Linked DNA regions of Homo sapiens: region 1 is linked to region 2. The links are contacts of gene promoters, found by promoter capture Hi-C in human tissues and cell types (Jung and others, 2019). All regions are on one chromosome and are shown on one strand. Each heading gives the region's core, a stretch centred on a gene start or on the middle of the fragment in contact. The rest is flanking DNA. Distances are from core to core; before and after follow the strand shown.

The links. Contacts are between HindIII fragments. The study calls those that stand out against the background at their distance.
Region 1: a fragment that was not itself captured here is called in contact with the fragment with the promoter of PCP4L1 in region 2 in 1 of the 25 tissues and cell types used here (liver).

What each region holds. Positions count from the first base shown.
Region 1 is chr1:161,207,245-161,210,633 of GRCh38, reverse strand. NDUFS2 (NADH:ubiquinone oxidoreductase core subunit S2) reads right to left here. Exons shown (of 14, transcript NM_001377299.1): 4 at 1,321-1,441; 5 at 1,039-1,151; 6 at 703-777; 7 at 446-523; 8 at 245-330; 9 at 1-43. Among named protein-coding and RNA genes, the nearest start is that of FCER1G, 6.4 kb to the left of the region's middle. The HindIII fragment of the contact is 3,202 bases long and covers 264-3,389 here.
Region 2 is chr1:161,257,102-161,260,657 of GRCh38, reverse strand. It overlaps PCP4L1 (Purkinje cell protein 4 like 1), which reads right to left and starts at 1,913. Exons shown (of 3, transcript NM_001102566.2): 1 at 1,675-1,913. The coding sequence starts at 1,683. RefSeq lists an enhancer at 1,045-1,545. The HindIII fragment of the contact is 11,379 bases long and covers 1-3,556 here.

The sequences.
Region 1 (3,389 bases), core at 615-3,114, 50 kb after region 2:
CCGCAGGTCCCACTGGATGCCTGAGCCCCGAAGCATCACTCCACTGTGGAGAGCATAATGGGAATAAGGGCCACTCTCCACAAACTAAGTAAGGAGGCTCCTTCTTCCTTAGCCTCCCTTGTTGATCCTTCACATTCAGGGTATGACTAGGAGGATGCCAACAAGTCTTCAAAGACAAGATATTAGGCTGGAACTCCCCCACTCCCACCCCCACTCCTACGGAGAGAAGTTGTATTCCCCTCACCTAAAACCATAGTTAAGTGCTTCTTCTGCTGTTACAACCCCAATGTCAATTGTCCGATTTCGCCAGATCCTATTGTTGGTCAGCAACTATTGATCAAGAAAACTGGTGTGTTAATACTCTTCCTCACACTCTTCAAATATCTCTGTATTTCTCTAGCCCTTCTTGTGGGGGAGAGATTTTTCCCATTGACTCCTAGCTTACCTCCTCCAACTCATCAAGCCGAAGAGAGAAGTTCTTAGAAAACTGATAAATGTCATCCATAAGCCCAAGGGGTAGGTCCTAGAAGCCAAACGGAAGTGCTACTGAATGTGGCATAGCCTTCACTAAGGAGAGCCCTCTCAGCACCCCCTCCCCCAGCGATACAGGTTTGGAGTTTCCATCATCCAGCACTGCCCTCCAGTGGCCACAGGGAAAATAGGCCTGGGCTGGACATTTGGGGAAGCCGGGGACCTGCTCACCTGGTGCACTCCTCCTGGCCGGATATAAGCAGCATGCATTCGGGCTCCAGACACTCGCTCGTAGAACTCAAACATCTTCATAGAACGTGCTGGGAATTAGTGTCAAAGTCCCAGGCCCCCAGGTCCTATGATGGCCTACTCCCCCACTTTCTGCCTTCTTGTGCCCAACCAACCCCTCATGATATAGTTTCTACAAATATAACCCAAGTTAAACATACCTTCCCCCTCTAAATGTTCTCCCATGTTCTCTCTCTTCTTTTAATCTCCTGTCTCCTTTATACCTTCTCTACTTCCTGCACTTCCTTCCCTATTCCTATCCTTTCCTCCCACTCTTACCTTCTCCCTTTCTTCAAACAGCCAGAAGAAAGGGGTCATGGCCCCAAGGTCCAGGGCATGTGTGGTCACAGCCATGATGTGGTTCAACAAACGTGTGATTTCTCCAAACAGCACTGTGAAGACAAGGAGAAGACAGGATATAGGAGCCAAGCACTGAGGCGGACAGAGAGGTCTGGGCAGAGCCTGGGGTCTGAACACTAAGCTTGGGTTCAACGGGGAAGTGGTGGAAAAGGCACTATGCTATGCTCACAGTGGGCCACAGAAAAAGTTGGGGGGACATACCTCGGATCCACTGTGCCCGAGGAGGAGGCCGGATGTTTAGCAACTTCTCCACAGCTAGAGAATAGGCCTGTTCGTTACACATCATGGACACATAGTCTAGCCGGTCAAAGTATGGAAGGGCCTGGGAAGAGGGAGGAATGTGGGTCACATCTAACAGGCTCAGGAGCCCACAGTCTGGCTGCCTGAAGCCTTGCTCTCAGTCGGCACCAGAAGTTGGTGCTGTATAAGCCTTTCTAGTCTCAGGAGCCCCAACAAGGCAGGTAAAAATATCCCAAAAACCAGTAGTATTCTAGTAAATGTTTAAAAACTGGCTCTCCAAAGTGAGGGAGGACTCTGATTTGTCATGTTTGCCAATTTCCATGGTAAAAATACTCCCACAATGGCCAATTTTAAGTTACCAATATCATGTAACTGAATGCAGCATTGGGAAGAATACCACACCATTATACAGTATTTCCACCATACAGACACATTCAAAGCAAATACCTCAAAGGCAGAGCATAGTAAAATGTGGTAAAATAATGAAGTGATGAGCTTTGAATATTTAATCTTACCTTTGCTTTTAATATAATGTATTAAATCATAAGCTTATATAAATTAATTTCTGACAATGGCTATGTTCAACAACTGGCTCACAAAACTCCTGAAAATTTAACAACTGCACTCTTGCAAGCCCGTATGAGCTAGCTCCAGGATACCACTGTCAAGAGTCCTTGGCCGGGCACGTGGCTCACGCCTGTAATCCCAACACTTTGGGAGGCCGAGGCGGGTAGATCACCTGAGGTCAGGAGTTTGAGACCAGCCTGACCAACATGGAGAAACCCCTTCTCTACTAAAAATACAAAATTAGCAGGGCGTGGTGGTGCATGCCTGTAATCCCAGCTACTTGGGAGGCTGAGGCAGGAAAATCACTTGAACCCAGGAAGCAGAGGTTGCAGTGAGACAAGACTATGCCACTGCATTCTAGCCTAGGCAACAAGAGCAAAACTCCATCTCAAAAAATAATAAAAATTTAAAAAACTGACATACTGGTCAGGCGCGGTGGCTCACACCTGTAATCCCAGCACTTTGGGAGGCCAAGTCAGGGTGGCTCATGAGGTCAGGAGTTTGAGACCAGCCTGGCCAACATGGTGAAACCCCATCTCTACTAAAAATATAGAAATTAGCTGGGCGTGGTGGTGAGTACCTGTAATCCCAGCTATTTGGGAGGCTGAGGAACGAGACTCGCTTGAACCTGGGAGGTGGAGTTTGCAGTGAGCCAAGATCACACTATTGCACTCCAGCCTGGGCAACAAGAGTGAAACTCCGTCTCAAAAAAAAAAAAAAAAAAAAAAAAATTAGCCAGGCATGGTGGTGCGTGCCTATAATCCTGGCTACTCTGGGGGCTGAAACAGAATTGCTTAAACTCGGGAGGCAGAGGTTGCAGTGAGCCAAGATCACGCCACTGCACTCCAGCCTGGGCGACAGAGCGAGACTCCGTAGGGAAAAAAACAAAACAAACAAAAAACTTCAGATACTGAAGGAGAAAGGCAATCAGTCTTAAGAGTATCTGGGAGGGTTTTTTTTTTTAATCTTTTTTTTTTTTGAGACACAGTCTTGCTCTGTTGCCCAGGCGCTGGAGTGCAGTAGCACCATCTTGGCTCACTGCAACCTCTGCCTCCCAGGTTCAAGTGATTCTCCTACAGGCGCACACCACCACGTCTGGCTAATTTTTGTATTTTTAGTAGAGATGGGGTTTCACCTTGTTGGCCAGGCTGGTCTCAAACTCCTGACCTCAAGTAATCCACCTGCTTCGACCTCCCAAAGTGCTGGGATTACAGGCGTGAGCCCGGCCAGAGTGAGGTATTTAAGGAAGACAGAGCATCAGGTAGAAATGGTCCTTCCTCCAGAATGCCAAAAAGCCAAGTCCTAGCTGTCTGCTGAACCAGCTTCAGCTTCCAGGAAGAGGGTGGAGCTAAGACGCTACTAGCTGGGACAGCCTGTTCTTATTCTGATGTCACTGTGACGGGGGCTAATGCTACAGGGGTTAACCCATAGACTCCAGGACCAGAAACTGTCATCGCCGAGGC
Region 2 (3,556 bases), core at 664-3,163:
ATTCCACCAAATACCACTCTAAATGCCAGCCCCTGTAGTGTGTCCTACAAAGGGGCTGTGCACTTACCCCAGAAAACACAGGCTAACTGCAAATCCTCACGTTGGCATAGCCTTCAGATCACAAACTCCCAGGGGATGGCTTGGATTACAACTTTCAGATTTAGAAATGCTCGGGGTGGGAGGAGTAGTATGAACCCTAGACCTCAGTGAAAAGGGGCAAAGAAAACCTCTCTTCCCACATTAGAGGTGAAAGAGGAGGTTGATGCGTTTTTTTCTTTTCTTTCTGAAAGATTGCCATCATCAGAGTCACAACCAGCTGAGGGACTGGAAACCACTTTGGTTCATCTGCAGCCCCCAGACTAGCCGAATTTTCCAGGATAAAATTAGTGAACACGGCAACCAAGACAACACAGCAGTTGGCACTAATTAGCTCCCTGGGTGACAACTTTTGGTAGGAGTCATAGAGATCTTCATTTTTAGTATCTAAACTGGAACCCAGGCTCCAGGGTCCTATTCCTTCAGTAATCTAATGTCTTTGGGAATTCTTCTGTTAAATTTCTGTAATACTCTAATGGGAGAGGAAGAAAAAAGAAACAGAAAGATAATAGCTAATATAGATTGAGTGCCAGGTCCTGTTTCAAGTATTTGGCATATATTATCTCATTTAATTATTACAACAACCAGTATTATCCCCATTTTACAGACAAAAAATGAAACAAAGGTTTTGTACTTTGCCTAAGGCTACATCACAGGTAAGTAGCTGGCCTACATACATATCTGACATATAGCAGAGGAGTTGGATTTAACACAACGATGTGGGTACTAGGAAAGAGGTTGCAGAGGGCAAGCTTGTGATGCCACTAACCAGACTGACTTCACTTGGAAAGGCTGATCCTTGTTTCTGGAGATGAGACTGTGCCTACAAATAGACAATAGGAGACGTCTTTCCAAAGTCTCTGCTTTGACCCCCCACTCCCCCACCCCATGAACAGTGTTCTTTGAAAACAGTAAATCAGTTAATGGCCTGGGTCTGGCCACGGTGAACACCACAGAGCCTGCCGGAAGACCTAGTTTGTAACAAGCACTGCAGAGGGAGGTCTATTCTTGAAGGGGAAATCTCCCCAGCAACTGGCAGGGGCTTCTAAATACCGGAACACGTCCCTCCAACGTTCCTGACTGAATGAGTGGAGGGCAGGATGCCACCTTTCTAAAAGGGGCACAGTGGCCCTCCCCGGGGGCCAGGGATGGAGTTCTTGTTAGATGCTACAGAAGGAATGTGAGTGCCTTACATCCCTAGGAGAGAGAGGACAGAAGCGAAGTGAGGGGGGTAAGGGGAGCCAGAATAATCTCGGGCAGTAAGACAGATGCAGGGGGCAGTATCCAGAGGGGATGACCTACCACCTGAGAGCTCAGCATCCCCGCTTCCGGACTCTACAGCCGATTCCAATTACCCCCAAAAGCGCCGTCCACAGTAGGGAGACTGAAAGCACCCCGTCTTCCAATCGTTTCCCAGCGCCCCGAGGTGGGAGCTTTCCTAGGAGGGCAGTGGGGCGCCCCTGGAGGGTTCTTCGCGGCTCCGGTCTGCCTCGCTCTCCCTCGCCTCCCTGGGATCCCGAGCCGCAGCACCCTCCCCGCCGCAGCCCTGCCGACAGCGCCGGGGGCCGCACCGCTCACCTCGCTCATCTCCGCAGCCGGACAGGGCGCGCGAGGCGCTGCACGCACAGGTGAGGCGAGTGGCCCTCGGGGCTCCGCGGGCGACAGCTGAAAGTTGCCGGGCTCTGCGGCAGGGGTTACAGCTGACCAGGAGAGGAGAGTTAGTGCGGAGAGCCGCTGCTCTGGTGCTGGCACCCGGGATTCTCGGAGCCCAGCTCCGGCCAGGCGACCCCCTGCGACCCGTCCTGTCAGAGCCGCTCAGCTCGCCGCCTCCGGCCCCACCTTTTATACTCAGCTCGGTACCCGCCTCCAGCCCGACCAATAGAAGCTCCTCCTACCGTAGAATGACAGCCTCTTGCATCCAATGCTGGCAGGTTTAGAGGTCTGCTGCATTTCCAAACTAGGGTAAGACAGAGAGCGGGAAGGAGGGGGAGACCATCGGGGGATGCGGGGACGGAAAATGAAGTAGGGGGAGCAAAGAAAGAGAGGGAGAAAGGAGATGTACACGAAGAAGGCAAGGTGGGGAGTGGAATGGAAGGAGTGTGTGAGTCTGAGAAAGAGAAGGCCTGGAAAGAAATCAAGAGGGTACACGGAAAACAGGAAACAGTGAATGAAAGGGGTAAAGCCAAGAGATGTTGCAGATTAAGATTTCCTAGTAGAATAGCACCCTGGAGGTCGGGCGCGGTGGCTCAAGCCTGTAATTCCAGCACTTTGGGAGGCCGAGGCGGGCAGATCACAAGGTCAGGAGATCGAGACCATCCTGGCTAACACGGTGAAACCCAGTCTCTACTAAAAATACAAAAAATTAGCCAAGCGTGGTGGCAGGCGACTGTAATCCCAGCTACTCGGGAGATTGAGGCAGGAGAATGGCGTGAACCCGGGAGGTGGAGCTTGCAGTGAGCCGAGATCGCGCCACTGCACTCCAGCCTGGGTGACAGAGAAAGACTCCGTCTCAAAAAAAAAAAAAAAAAAAAGAACAGAACCCTGGACCAGAGAATAGCACAAGAGAGGGAGGAAGGCTGGGGGAAGAGAGAGAGAGACAGAATGAGAGAGAGACTGGAGCAAATGGACAGCTTTCTTTGGCAAAGAACAGGGAAATTGTGAAGTGCCTGTTTGATGTGGAAGATCATAGATCTCAGGAGTTGGAAGACATTTTAGGATTCATCAAATCCTACTGTGTCTGGAGTTGGTTCCTTCTGGTGGGTTCTTGGTCTCGCTGACTTCCAGAATGAAGCTGGGAATTTTTGCAGTGAGTGTTACAGCTCTTAAAGGTGGCACGGACACAAAGAGTGAGTCAGTGAGCGAGTGAGCAGCAGCAAGATGTATTGTGAAGAGCGAAAGAACAAAGCTTCCACAGCATGGAAGGGGACCCGAGCACGTTGCTGCTGCTGGCTGGGGTGGCCAGCTTTTATTTCCTGGGGTCACCGCCCATGTCCTGCTGTTTGGTCCATTTTACAGAGTGCTGATTGGTTCATTTTACAAACCTCTAGCTAGCTACAGAGTGCTGATTGGTGCGTTTTACAATCCTAGCTACAGAGTGCTAATTGGCACATTTTACAATCCTCTTGTAAGACAGAAAAGTTCTCCAAGTCCCCACCTGACCCAGAAGTCCAGCTGGCTTCACCTCTCAATCTCCCCTCTAAACAGGACACCCCAGCTGCTGTTGGAAATTGGGCGATGACCACTCTAGCTACTTCCTGCTGGATGGGGGCGAAGGGGCCCTGCAGTGGTAGTATCCTCCAGAGGGAAACTCTCTAGGCCAGCCAAAGGGTCAGTGGGTTGGTCCAGGGGTCCTCGGTAGAAGTTGTTAGTTGAGCTCGTTTGGGGTTCCATTTGTAAGACCATCTGTAGCTTGATGGCATTGATCCTGGAGGAAACAAATTTGACAAAGAGGTTAAAAATA